Regions from separate parts of the Homo sapiens genome. Here all the other regions are linked to region 2. Evidence: promoter capture Hi-C in human tissues and cell types (Jung and others, 2019). All regions are on one chromosome and are shown on one strand. The core of a region is centred on a gene start or on the middle of the fragment in contact, and the rest is flanking DNA. Distances in the headings are between cores, read along the strand shown.

What was found. The method cuts DNA at HindIII sites, captures the fragments that hold promoters and counts their contacts. A contact is called where the count stands out against the background at its distance.
Region 1: a fragment that was not itself captured here is called in contact with the fragment with the promoter of BICC1 in region 2 in 1 of the 25 tissues and cell types used here (IMR-90 fibroblasts).
Region 3: a fragment that was not itself captured here is called in contact with the fragment with the promoter of BICC1 in region 2 in 1 of the 25 tissues and cell types used here (mesendoderm cells).

What each region holds. Positions count from the first base shown.
Region 1 is chr10:58,471,536-58,475,928 of GRCh38, forward strand. All of the region lies in intron 3 of LOC105378316 (a long non-coding RNA gene), which reads left to right. Among named protein-coding and RNA genes, the nearest start is that of BICC1, 39 kb to the right of the region's middle. The HindIII fragment of the contact is 5,137 bases long and covers 1-3,927 here.
Region 2 is chr10:58,510,962-58,515,854 of GRCh38, forward strand. It overlaps BICC1 (BicC family RNA binding protein 1), which reads left to right and starts at 1,911. Exons shown (of 21, transcript NM_001080512.3): 1 at 1,911-2,372. The coding sequence starts at 2,183. It overlaps LOC124902427 (a long non-coding RNA gene), which reads right to left and starts at 1,091. Exons shown (of 2, transcript XR_007062147.1): 1 at 699-1,091. The HindIII fragment of the contact is 7,114 bases long and covers 1-4,893 here.
Region 3 is chr10:58,451,116-58,455,774 of GRCh38, forward strand. All of the region lies in intron 1 of LOC105378316 (a long non-coding RNA gene), which reads left to right. Among named protein-coding and RNA genes, the nearest start is that of BICC1, 59 kb to the right of the region's middle. The HindIII fragment of the contact is 7,097 bases long and covers 1-4,659 here.

The DNA.
Region 1 (4,393 bases), core at 109-2,608, 40 kb before region 2:
TATGTCCCTCTTTCCTTCCTTCTTACCTCCCTTCATCTTTCTTTCTCTTTTCTTCCTTTCCTTTCCTTTCCTTCTCTCTTTTATCAAATGCCTCTTTAGTGAAATTTCTTTTGTCAAATGCCTCTTGAGTGAAATTGCTCCAGGTTGAGAACCATTGCCCTAGCGATTTCAACATGCATCCTTAACTAGTTACAGTCTACCTTAACTAGTAATCTAATTCTACATAGAATGTAAGAATCTTATAACTTGACTCCATTTGCCCCTTTCTCTTACCTTTTTTGCTATTGTCACATATTTTACACTATGTTACATGTTCTAAGCTCCAAAAGATGCTATTGTTGTTGCTTTATTTGTTTATTTGTAGTTTCGAGACAGAGTCTTGCTGTGTTGCCCAGGCTGGAGTACAGTGGCTCAATCACAGCTCATTGCAGCCTTGACCTCCTGCCTCCTCAGCCTCCTCAGCCTCTCAAGTACCTGGGACTACAGGTACACTCCACCATGCCTGGCTAATTTTTTAGTATCTTTCCTAGAGACAGGGATTCATCATGTTGCTTAGGCTGCAATCAAACTCTGGGCTCAAACGAACCTACCTTCTCAGCCTCCCAAAGTTCTGGGATTACAGTCATGAGCCACTGTGCCTTGTTGCTTTAAATAGTTAGTATTCTTTTATATTTATTCACTGATTTATAGTCTTTTCGGTGTTTTTCATTTCCTTCTAATTTTCTGTGTTTCTAGCTCAGAAAATTTCCCTTCTGCTGGTAGAACTCCCTTTAGTACTTACTTCAATGCTGTGCAGCTAGCAACAAATTCTATTTTAATTTGAAGGAAATATTCTTACTGGTGTATAATTCTAGGTTGAGAGGTCTTGTTTGCCTTTTTGTTTTTTCATTTTAAAAATATCATGACATCGTCTCCTGATTTCCACAGTGTGTCATTTTGGGTTCCATGAGAAGCAGACACCAAGATAGGATTAAAAATATAAGAAATTTGTTCGGGGGAAATGCCTGTAAAGGATAAAAAAAGAAGGAGAGGAGTAGGCAGGGAGAACCTTCAGACACCAAGACAGGTCCAGCACCTGTGAAAGAAGACAGGTGAGGAAGGATTAGGCCAGAAGAGCCTCAGACTATCGACGGGTCTGTTAAATTCATGGCCAGGTCAGTAGAGATCTCCTGAGCCAAATTGCCTGTTAAAGAAATTCTGCATCTACCAATATAGCCTGATTTTCATACCCCCATTGAGCTAATTCATTGACTGGAAGCAGCCCAGGGGAAGTATGATTTGATATGAAAGTTTTAGTGGATCTAACAGTGCAGCAGCTGTCAATAAGATGAGCGCCCCACAGCATGATCTCTTGAAGGGAGATCTGAGGGGTGCAATTCCGTGGCTGCCACACAGTGTTTTTTTTTGTTTTTTGTTTTGTTTTGTTTTGTTTGAAGTTAGCTGTCAGTCTTATTGTAGTTCCCCTGAAGACTTGGGCTTTCCCCAGCTCTGGTTGCTTTAGAACTTGTCATTCTTTTTCAACAATTTCTACAATGTGTCCAGGTATGGTGGGTTTGTTGGTGTTACTGTTGGCATTGTACTTATTCTGCTTAGGGACTCTTGAACTTCTGGAATTGGTGGGTTTATATCTTCCATTACTATTAGAAATTTCTCAGTTGTGTGTTTTCAAATATTGCTTCTGCTCCATTCTCTCTCCTTTCTCTCCTTTGAGACTCTATTACACTTTATTAAACTGTTGGAGTATGTTCCACATTTGGACATACTCTTTCTTTCCAGTTTGGTTTTTCTCTGTGATCCAATTTGAATAGTTTCTATTGATCCGTCTTTAAATTAACTAATCCTATCATCTATATCCAGTTTGCTTTTAAACCTACCTAATTAGTTCTCAAATCCAAACATTATACTTTTCAGTTCTAAAATACCCATTTAAAAATTTGATAGAGCCCAATTATCTGTTAAAATATAATTTTCACTTTTTTTTAACATGCTTTTTGAAACTTTTTTTTAACATGCCATGGTTATTTTATTGTGCTTTTTCTCATCTCAATTCTCTTTGGGCTTGTATTTATTTTATTTTTTGATTATTATTACCTATCCTGATTGTTTTAATGTGCAGTAAATTTTGATTGCATGCTGGGCATTGGTATAAAATAACTGTAGACTTCTGATGGTATCTTCCACCAGAGAGGTATCTTTTTTTTTTCTTTTTTGTTAGGACCAGGAGCTAATTACCTCATTTCAATGGGAACTGAGTTGAAGTAGGGCTGCATTTACAATTTTAGCAAGATTCTGTCCACCCCTGGTTTATCCCTGCTTTTTAGATATAGTCTTTCCAAGCTTTTGATTGAGAGCCTGGAGTGTCTATTTCTTCTCAGCTTTAAGAAAATTTTTTCCTTTTTTAGTCTTTTTGAGACAGAGCCTTGCTCTGTCGCCCAGGCTGGAGTGCAGAGGTGCGATCTTGGCTCACTGTAACCTCCGCCTCCTGAGTTCAAGTGATTCTCATTCCTCAGCCACCTGAGTGACTGGGATTACAGGTGGCTAATCTTTGTATTTTTAGTAGAGATGGGGTTTTGCCATGACTGGTCTTTAACTCCTGGGCTCTAGTGATACACCCACTTTGGCCTCTGCAAGTGCTGGGATTACAGGCATGAGTCACTGTGCCCAGCGTCCTTCTGTACCTAGACATCATGTGGTCCTCTATAGCTCTTTTATAACTTTAACATGTTTCTTTCAATGTATTAATTTGTTACTAGTTGCTGCAGCAAGACCTTTGACCTGCTTTGACCTACTACATTCTACCTAGGAGCAGAAGTATATATAATCTGTTATTCTTACTAATAATATGGCAACAAATAGTCTTAAATATGCTTTATTTCATACAAATGCAAGTAAGGCTGTAGAAGAAATTCCTAGATCAAAAAGTATATGCATTTGTAATTTTGGCAGGTATGATAGTTAATACTGAGGGTCAACTTGATTGGATTGAAGGATACAAAGTATTGATCCTGGGTGTGTCTGTGAGGGTGTTGCCAAAGGAGATTTAATATTTGAGTCACTGGGCTGGGAAAGGGAGACCCACCCTTAATCTGGTGGGCACCATCTAATCAGCTGCCAGCGAATATAAAGCAGGAAGAAAAACGTGAAGAGGTGAGACTGGTCTAGCCTCCCAGCCTACATCTTTCTCCCGTGATGGATGCTTCCTTCCCTGGAACACTGGACTCCAAGTTCTTTAGTTTGAGACTAGGACTGGCTCTCCTTGCTCTGTAAACTTGCCAACAGCCTATTGTGTGACATGATTGTATAAGTTAATACTTAATAAACTCCCATATTTATATATGCCTACCATTTGCTTTATATATATATATAGTGGGACCTTGTGATTGTGTAAGTTAATACTTAAACTCCTATATGTGTGTGTGTATATATATATATATATATATATATATATATGCCTACCGTTTGCTCTTATATATACATCCTATTAGTTCTGTCCCTCTGGAGACCGTGACTAATACAGTAGGTGTCACCAAAACTCTCTCCTTAGAGATTATAGCAATGTATATTTCCACCAGGAATATATAACAATGCCTATTTTAACAGCAGCTTTACAAATACTGTGTGTTAACTTTTGAATGTTTGTGAGTTCAGGAGTAACATTATCAGAACTTTGCATTAAGAAGGTTAATGTAGTCATAATATGTTAGGTGGATTAGAAAAGACCAAGGACAAAAGTCACTTACCTCATAGTTTTGTCTCTGTTTCTAGTGACCTAAAAAGTGAAAGCAACTGTATTCGTGCTTGAAAACATTTCCCGAATTTTCTAATCAGGTCTCTTTTTAGCCGGAAAGTTGATGGCTCAAAGTTCTTCCACAGGTTCAGTACAGATGTTAGCAGATTTTAGTGGCTGCAGTGTAGTACATCTGTTTGTCACACCAAGCTCAGCATCTGTGTCAGGAACAGCCAGTTTTGTGATTCAAGAATAGAAGAGACAGAGATGGCTGTGGTTTCCCCTTAGGGCTCTAGCAGAGGAGACACTTTGGGGACAGTAAAGAACATGAGATGATGTTTCTGTTAAGAAGAAATCTGTTCCTGCTTCATTCTTGGTCAAAACAGCCGTAAGCCTGATAAAACAATATTGCATGCTAGTTTCAGGAATGTAACTCAGCCATTTCAGTGTTTCCTTTCCGGGTCCCTGTGGATTTCTAACCCTCACTTTAACAGTAAGGCTATATTATCCTCATTTTCTCCTGCCATCTCTCGGCTGTTTTTCTTTCTCCTGGGTTCAGTGAGTCATTTCCTCAAGTCCTCCCTGGTTTGGCTTCAAAAATTTAGGATAATCATCAAGAGCTGTCCTCTTCTCCCCTTCAGGCTTGAATTCCTCTTAGTGTTAAAG
Region 2 (4,893 bases), core at 661-3,160:
CCTTGCCTAGTTAACTTCTCTTCCAACGTCTGTTCTGAGTTAGAGTCACTGTTTCGAGAAGCCTTCACTGACCTCTCTGACTGAATCCAATTACTCTATCATAGGTTTTCTCATATCTTGAGTCTCTTGTTTGTAATGCTTACTGCGGGCATGATTTTATATTTGTGATTTATTTTTTGGTCAGTATTCCTTCTCATTAGAATTTCAGCTCCAGGAGGGAGTACAGGGATGTGTCTGTCTTTGCTTACTATTCCTTGGGCTTAACAGTGCCAAGTACATAGTAGGGTCCCAATAAATATTTGTTGATAGAAAAACACAGTAAATGTCCCTGATGGAAAACAGTGGGAATGCTCCTACATAAACCCTTTGGGTGCTGAAACTAGTGCCTTGGATAGAAATTAACAGTAATTAACAAGTTTATAAAAGGAACACATGGTGGTGAATCAGAGCAGTTAAGTGTGCAGATGCTCTCAGTTCTTCAGGAGGTGACTCTGGGCAGGAGGGGTCTCCGCTCAAAAAGGTAAGACTTTATATAAAGACCCACAGACCTGGGTCTGATTAATTGGCTGTATTATCTGCTGCTGGACAACCTTAGTCAAGTTACTTTATTTCCCACGGTCTCAGTTTCCTCATCTGTACCCATCACAGGGTCAATTCCTGTTAACTAGGCAGCTGAACCTGAAATAATTTTGATTTACCTTCAGCATATTCCATGATTATCCAGAGGCCTGTGCCAGTGATATGGCTCTTCCTACATGTGAGCCAGGCAGCCTCCTTCTGTGGCGCAGTGACAAACTGCTATCCCCATCATTCCTCCCCGCAAGTCTTTGTACTTTGGGTCATAAAATAATAGGCTATGAATCTGTGTGAACTGGGAAAACAGAGTTCCAAGGGCACACCCAGTACGAGCGAGTCTCCTCTTCCCCCGCGCTTCATATCCAAGCTTGACAGAGGCCGTGGGTGGGCTGGCCCTCGGCAGTGAGGCTCAGAGGTTACTGGCCGTCATCTGTCAGAGACTGACCTTGAAAACAGAGAAAAGCCCTCAGTCCCTGACAAGACAGCCCTGCCCACGTGCCAGCTGGATCCAGCTCGCCAACACAGCGATCTCCGAGCCCCTTTTCTACTTAAAAAAAAAAAAAAGTCTGCTGAGTCCATTCCTTGAGAATCACAGAGAAAACAATTCCTTCCTTACTCCATTCAAGAAAAAAAAAAATTCCCTTTCTCAGAATAAAAAGAGTAAGCCTCTTGTCCACCTCTCGTGCAGCGGGCCACTTTGCTGGGAGGAGACGAGGTGTCTGGGTTTGAGCCCTTCCTGGAGGTATGAACTACATGCGAGCCACGTCCATGGCGATGCCTGCGAAAGACGGGCATGATTTCTTCTCCAAGCCTTCTTTTTCCTCTTCCTCACGTTCGAGCTTGTGGAACCAACTGGGGCTGTGAGTTTCAGGGTGTAGGGTATGTATGTAAACAGCGGAATTGTGTATGCGCTTAGTGTGCGTTCAGGACTCTGCTGTGCTTGAACTTGGCGTGTTTGTGTTTGTGTGTTTGGAGGATTATGAGAGCATGTAGGGGGAAGAGATTTGTATGTGTAAGTGCAGAAAAGTAGTAGTGTGTGTGATGTGTGTGTGTAGACAGGAATTACGTGGATACTCCATGTGCGTTCAGGAGTGTGTGTGTTTGAGGAGCTATGAAAGTGCATGTATGGAAAGGATTTATACGTGTAAGTGCAGAAAGTGGCAGTGTGTACGTGGTGTGTGTGTGCGCGCGCGAGTGTGTGAGCGCCAGGGGCCGCCCGCCCGCCGCGGCTCCCCGTGGGCTGGCCGGGCCAATGAGCGCGCGGCTGTAGGGGCGGCGGGCGGGGAGGGGGCGCCGAGCCCTGCGGATGGAGGCGCGGGCAGCGCGGCGCGCTCATTCCGCGCGGGCGTTGCTGGCGGGGGGCGGCGCAGCCACTGGACCCGGACCGGGGCCGCGACCCGGGGTGGCGGGTGGCGTGGGCGGCGCCCGGGGCTGGGATGCGCCGGGGGCTCAGTGGCGGCGGCGGCGTTGGCGGTGGCGTCGGCGGCTGCAGGGGGACGAGCTAGCGCCGCGGCGCTGGGAGCCAGTTGAGCCCGGCCGGCGAGCGGAGGCGGCAGCGCAGGCAGAGCGGCGGCGGCAGCGGGAGCCCGAGCGCTGCGCGCCCACCATGGCCGCCCAGGGAGAGCCCGGCTACCTGGCGGCGCAGTCGGACCCCGGCTCCAACAGCGAGCGCAGCACCGACTCCCCAGTGCCCGGCTCCGAGGACGACTTGGTCGCCGGGGCGACCCTGCACAGCCCGGAGTGGAGCGAGGAGCGCTTCCGCGTGGACAGGAAGAAACTTGAGGCCATGTTACAAGGTAGGCATCCCTCGTGTTCTCGGACTCTCCGACTGAGCCTCTAACTCCTTTTCGGACATCCCCACCGCGCGCTCCGGCGCCCGCTACTCCAGCCTACGGCCGGCCGGTTTAGCTCCAGGCCCGCTCCCCCGCGGAGCCGGAGGACACCCAGGGACTGGAGACTTCGCGGGACTCCCCACCCTTCCACGCCTCTCAGATTTCCAGGCGCTGGGGGCCCTGTGCGAACTTGACTGGCTTCAGAAAAGCCGAAGGCCGAGTTTGTACTGGCGCGCCCAAGTTGCGTTCTGGACTTTGGAGATGCCAACTTTAGCCCGGACACCTGGGCTGTGCCATCCGGACCACTCGGGCCGCACAGAGTATGCGTGACCCTCCCCATTCCCTGGCAGCCTCGAGTTCTGTCTCTCTCCGTCTGTTTCACTCTCTCCCCTTGTCAGTATCCACTTCCTCCAGCTGAGGGGCCTTGTCTCACTATTGGGAAACGCTCTGCAGATGTCAAGGCTTAAGACAGGAGCTCCCGCCCCCACCCCTGTGGTCAAGGAGGGCCAGGATCGGGGTGAGCAGCCAAAGCGAGGGGGGAGTGTGGAGGCAGTGCTGCTGTGTTTGAGGACAGTGTTCATCTCTTGACAGGCTTATAAAACACATCTTGAGTTACATTCAGTCCATAAAAATCTTCCTATGCTATGGGTGTCTGACTTTGTCTTTCACAACTTAGAATTATTTTTAACTCTTTAATTTCTTTGGGACTTTCCCAGGTAGAAAATCTTCAACCATACTGGACCGAAAACAGATTCTGATTTATAATACGAGTGTTGGAGTGAACGTCAAAACGTCCAAGGTCATTTTGACCTTTCTTAAAACAGATAATTACTAGCCTACCTGTAGCCACCGATGTGGCTCATTTCCCACATCCAAAGAGAGAAATGAGTTAGTTTGAATGACTGTTATTCTTAAAATACGTGTACGGGACCAGGCGTTAGTCTCACTTAGGGCGCTGGTGAAGATTCATTCAGTAGCTAGTGTTCTTTTATCATGGAGGAGTTTGGAGTTTTTCAAACGTTATTTGTGGCTTTATGCATAACTTACTTTGACTTTATCAGTCAATGCATCGCAGTATGGGAATGATTTAGCCCTCTGTGGAAATGCAGTGGCTTTTTAGAACAATTAAGCAGGTTATTTTAAGAGAGAACAACATGTTTTCCAAAACAATAACTTGGTGGAAACAAATAGCAAGAGTGTTTGGCAGACGTTTTTTGGATGTGCTACAGGCTTTCCTCCCTTGTTGCTTATTTTTATTGACAAACATCCCTAATGTGTGTCATGTCTTTCTCTGTCTCTCCCCTTCCCTCTCTTTTTTTCTCAAATTATGTAACTTTTGAGGACAGTTACTTCTGTGATAAACTCTTCAAGTAAGACCGTTATAAGATAGATTTGGAAATTAAAGCCCCAGTTGCATTTCAGTAACTCATTTCAGTTATTTCGTCTGTTCTGTGGTTCTTTTTGCCTAGTTTATGATTATAAAACAAAATATTAAATTTATGTCAGGCATATATTGTGAGATCGTTTGGAATGAACTGATAGTAGCACATACTCATCCTTTTCAACCAGCTTTCAGTTTTCTACATTAGTTTGGAGTGATATGAAAGAATGATCTGTTTCACCTGCGCACAAACAAGTAAGGACAGTGATGTTAGCTTCTGGGAAGTTCAAGTGTATAACCTGAGCTTTAGAAGTGAATTTCCTTTTTTGATTTAATTCATTTTCACTTCGAATAAAATGAAATTTTGAGGAGACTTTTTGAAAATTTGAAGGCTCTTTTGTATTAATAGATGTGATACTACGATCTGAGACGGTTTGAAATTGCTTTGCAGTAATAGTTTCTTTTACAGAAAGTCTTAACATCTCTTGAACAACCGATATACAGTCATGCAGTCCATGCTTAAGGACTACGACTGGGATACCTTGTTAGAAATGTGTCCTTAGGCATTTTCATTGTGCAAACATCATGGAGTGTAGTTACACAAACCTAGGTTGTGTAGCCTGCTACACCTACTACCTAAGCTATATGGTATAGTCTATTGCTCCTAGGCTACAAATAATGTTACTAGGCTACAAGGCGTGTTACTATACCCAATACTGTAGACAGTTGTGGCACAGTGGTATTTGTGTATCTAAATATATCTAAACATTGGAAAGGTAATGTGTTATGTTACTATGGCTATGACATCACTAGGCGATAGGAATTTTTCAGCTTCTTTATAATCTTACGGGACCATTGTAGTGTATGTGGTTAGTTGTTGACCAAAACACAAGTGTGAGCACTGGGATCACTAATACCTGGGTTCAAAACTCTGTAGGATCTCAGGAAAGTTGCTAGGCCTCTCTTTGCCTTCAGTTTGCCCATCTGTAAAATGGAGCTGATACTAGGACCTTTTAGGTTTTGGGAGAATCGAAAGAGATAATGCCTAACAAGCTAACATTTGCCCACAGTGTTTGGTCAATGATAAGAACTTAATGAATATCT
Region 3 (4,659 bases), core at 104-2,603, 60 kb before region 2:
CAAACATGTTTATGTATATAGTCTTTCTCTTCTATGGGGGGTATCTCTTTAGCTGTAAGATATCCATGGTGAAAAGTAGAAACATTTAATATTGTTTTATGTATATTGATATTTAGTCACAAGAGCTCTGACATTGTAAAGCCCCAGAGTGATATGTGTGAGAATCTTTGAATTTCAGATAATTACTGAGAGAAAGGACTTTGCTTTGTAGCTCCAGGAGCTAGTACTGTGGCTAGGCATATTAGACCAGTAATAGCTGTGTTTTGAATATGTAAATCAATGATTAAATGAATGATTAATTCACTTGTCTTGTGATGAGAGTTTTAAGATGTTTCTTGCCATCTGGATGCAGTATGATTTCAAGTGTCCCCTCTGATACTGGCAAGGTCTGGAGAGCCATTAAGACAAAGAGTTTACTCCTGTGAGCTGGGTTCTACGGAAGTCTGGAATGCTGCCCTGAGAACACAATCTGCAACAGTATCTGTCTGAGATTTTTGGTTTTGTTTCCTCCACCACTATAAACCCAAGCATTTCCATGGGCTCCCTTCTGAAAAAGGGAAGGTGATATTTCCTGGCTGAAGGAGACTTTCCCATTAATGTTTTACCTCAGTGTAGCAAGCACGCTAAGCTTGGGTCAGAATGTTTGAATGTTTTGGCTCTGTTCTCTTGTGGACTTCAGAAAACAACTAAGTTCATTCTCAACTTAAACTGGATCACTGTTTTTGTTTTGTAATGATTTTTCTTGTAAAGGGAGAAAAATAATTTTGGTTCAGATCAAATTGTAAAAAAAAGTTTAAGATTTAGCTGATCAGAATAAGGCTTTTGAGATGGAGATTTTATATCAATATCATTTGTGTTTTTACTAGCACTAGTAATTACTATTTATAGCACTCTGTGCCTGTCCCTGCTCTAGTACATTTTTTTTTTACATTATTTAACTTACTTTAGTCATCTCAGCAATCCTATGAAGTAGATATTACTTTCATTTTGTAATTATCGGGAAAATGATGCTTACAGAACTTAACTCACCTGCCCATAAGCACACAGAATTGGTAACAGTCAGAATTGAAAACTAGATCTGTCTGATATCAATATGCTCACACATCCATTTGATTTTTGTTTGTTTATTTATTTATTTATTTTGAGACAGGGTCTCATTCTGTCACCCAGGCTGGAACGCAGTGGTACAATCTTGGCTCACTGAAGGCTCACAGCAACTTCCGCCGCCCAGGTTCAAGCAATTCTCCCACCTCTGCCTTCCAAGTAGCTAGGATTACAGGTGCATGCCACTCACTATGCTAGGCTAACTTTTTTTTTTTTTTTTTTTTTGGTAGAGATGGAGTTTAACCATGTTGGCCAGGCTGGTCTCGAACTCCAGACCTCAGGTGATCCGCTCACCTCAGCCTTGCAAAGTGCTGGGATTACAGGCATGAGCCACTCACACATCCATTTGAAAAGCACTTTCACATAAATTTTATTTTCTCATTCACAGTTGCAATACTGGGAAGAGGGCTGTGCTTAGTCCTGCCTGGCATAGGTAAAGACAGAGATTTACAGATTATGTGTTTTGCCATCCAAGGTCACACTGGAGAGAGTTATCAGAGTCAGGGCATAAATGAAAACCTTCTGGTCTTCATCCCGTACCCTTTCCACTCTTCTCACGGACTCCCTAGAGATTTTCTCTCTCAATCTCTCACTTTATGTTTGAGCAAATGGAAGCCCAGAATATTGCAATGATTCATCAAGGTCATACAACTAGTTAGCAAACTGATGCTAGAGGCTGGATTTTTTGCCTCCCGAGCTAGCGTCTTTTCTGTTAGGTCTATGTAGCAAACAAAACCTGATTGTTAAGGAATGTTCAATGTGAGTTACAATCCAAGCCAGGGAAGACATTAATATAGGCCATCCAGTACAGAGCCCTTCACTCATCATTTTCATTTTTAACAAATGTCCTCCCTCATTTGAGATACCCAGTTGATGTGCTCATCATCAAGTATGCACTGAAATGATGAGTATGAATGTGTCCTGCACTGGGGACCAGCCCCGAGTGGGTCCCCCATTGTCAGTATATGGAGAGTCTCAGGAATAGCAACTCTCCCTTCCTCAGTGTAGACCTCGAAACAGCCAAAGTAAATAGAATTTTCCACCTCAACAGCTGTATTTATTTTGGGCTGTTTCTCCACCTACAACGCCCATTTGCTGTTCTCAGAGCTTCTGAACCTGTTTATTTTCAACCTCCCAGAGGCAGCCAGCTGTTGTATTCCCATTTCAAGGCAAAAAGAAGTCAACATGTTCTTCTGGAGGGAAGCAACCCATTTTAAGATCTTAAAGGATATCACCCAAAGGAGAGTTTACCAGCTGTGGATATTTCCTGAGCAAGACACTATTCCTGCTCTCAAATATCTTATTCAAGTGGCTTAACAGATGTAATTGGAGACAGAGCTTGAGCGCTGAAAATTACATAGTAATATAAAAGAGCTAGGGAGCAATATGAGCTCGAGATTTAAGTGATGTCAAGTGAATGTGATTGAGCAGAGCCTCCCCATCAGTAGGCTGGATTAAGCCTATAGGAATATTTTGTTTGGGATCCAAGTTTGTTTGTGTATGTGTTTGTTTTTCAGTGAGCCAATATTTAAAAATTGAGAGACTTTACCTAAAAGTCTGATTTCTGGCTTCGTTTGAAATACCAGAAGATCTGTCAATACGTGTTTGTCCTTATTGGGGCACCAGTGGGCTGGTGTGGTGGGTGTGTTAGATAAAACACACCCTCCTCAGTTTGCCATAAGTACTCCCTATTTTCTTTCCAATGTTGAGGCCAACTCTTAGTTGCCTTGTACCTTCACAGTTGCAGTGTTGTTTTACTTATTCTCATTCACTTCAGTTTTGTGCTGGACCCCATGGGCATGTGAGTATTTCAACCCTTTTGGGGTCATTAGTGCCTTAAGGGCTGGTATGGATGTCGCCTTTGTTGAATGCCCATTATAATATAATAAGCACTGTACTAGACATGTACCTCATTTACTACTCACAGAAAACCCTACCAGGCAGACATTATCATTCTCACTTTGCAAATGGGAAAAATGAGACTCAGCAAGGGTTTGATATCAGCTAGAAGTCATCCAGTTCACGAATAGCTAGGATTCAAATGCTAGCTGGCTAATTTCCTCCTTCATAGATACTGCCTCCCAGAGAACTAGGAAGTGACAAAGTTGAGTCTTGAACTCCAGCCTAGTGAACATTCTAAAAAGTCATACTCTATCACAGGCACACATTTTGCTGTGTGCAAAGAGATAGCTAGCAAATACCTCATGATGAATCCAGAGGACCTAGAAGAAAAAAACCACTTCCACTAGGAAATGACTCAATAACCAATAATAACTTCTGAAAAGAATACACTGTAATTGTCCTTAAATTGTAGGTAGACAAACCCATCACCAAGGAGTTGGCATGTGCTTCTGGGATAGATTGAAAATTTTGGCAACAACAGGGTATTGAACTATTAGAAAATACCATTTGGGTATTTCGATGAGAAGAATGGAATCTGTGAAGATGCTAAACAAAGACCATAAATTCCATACGGTTTGGGCAGATAAAGAAGTAGTAAAACCTATATTCTAAATTCTAAGCCAACCATTCCTGGGCAGTGACCACTGGAAGCTGGACCTCAAAGCCTGAAGCCTGGATGTCAAAACCTATCACTTCCCATACAGCTCATTCTAGGTAGCAGAAATACAAAATATTTAAATGTCAGTTATTCTGTTTTATATTTTGAAAAAGAGTTTTGGAAAGTTACACAGCTTGAATTTAAATCCAGGACTTCCATTATATGCTACCTTGAAGAAAACAGATGGTAGAGAGGGGAGGGAAAGGCATTCCAGGTAGGGGATGTCATGTTAGAAAACTTCAGATTCAGCTTGGGTAGAGAAGGGAACTAAATAGCAGAGATTACAGTCTCTAAAATTTCTATCACCATGGTACATGATGACAGCAGCTACCTGTTTTATTACTTACCCTGTTACCTCAGATTGCAGATAACTGACCATGCTGGCCCTCACTGAAATTCCCAAGGGACATGTCTCTAATGACCACATGTCCCTTTTACTCTCCTTTCACCTAGCCATGGCCATTTACCCCACTTGCAAGATCCACCCTACTCCAAGGTTTTGGATCAATTCTCTTCCTGGTCAAGGTAAGTTGCAGGCTAATAGGTAAATCACAGGCCAGCTATAGGTTGAGTAATGTTTAACAGCAACAACAAAACCAAAAATAACAATTACTATAACAGTAAAAATGGTAGTTACTTTTCCTGAGCTATGTCTATGTACTAAACACTTTGCTATTAAATAAAATAATTAATTAAATAATAAATAATTTATATTCTTTACTCCATGTAATTATATCACTCTGTGAGTTATACATTATGGGGAGACAATTCTCTATGGGTCTCTTGCATTTCCGCACATCTTGTGAGTGAGGCATTCGCTCTTCTTTGTTCCAGACTTCTTTTTTTTTTTGATGGTAAGCAGTTTATTTTTTATTTATTTATTTATTTATTTATTATACTTTAAGTTCTAGGGTGCATGTGCACAACGTGCAGGTTTGTTACATATGTATACATGTGCCATGTTGGTGTGCTGCACCCATTAACTCGTCATTTAC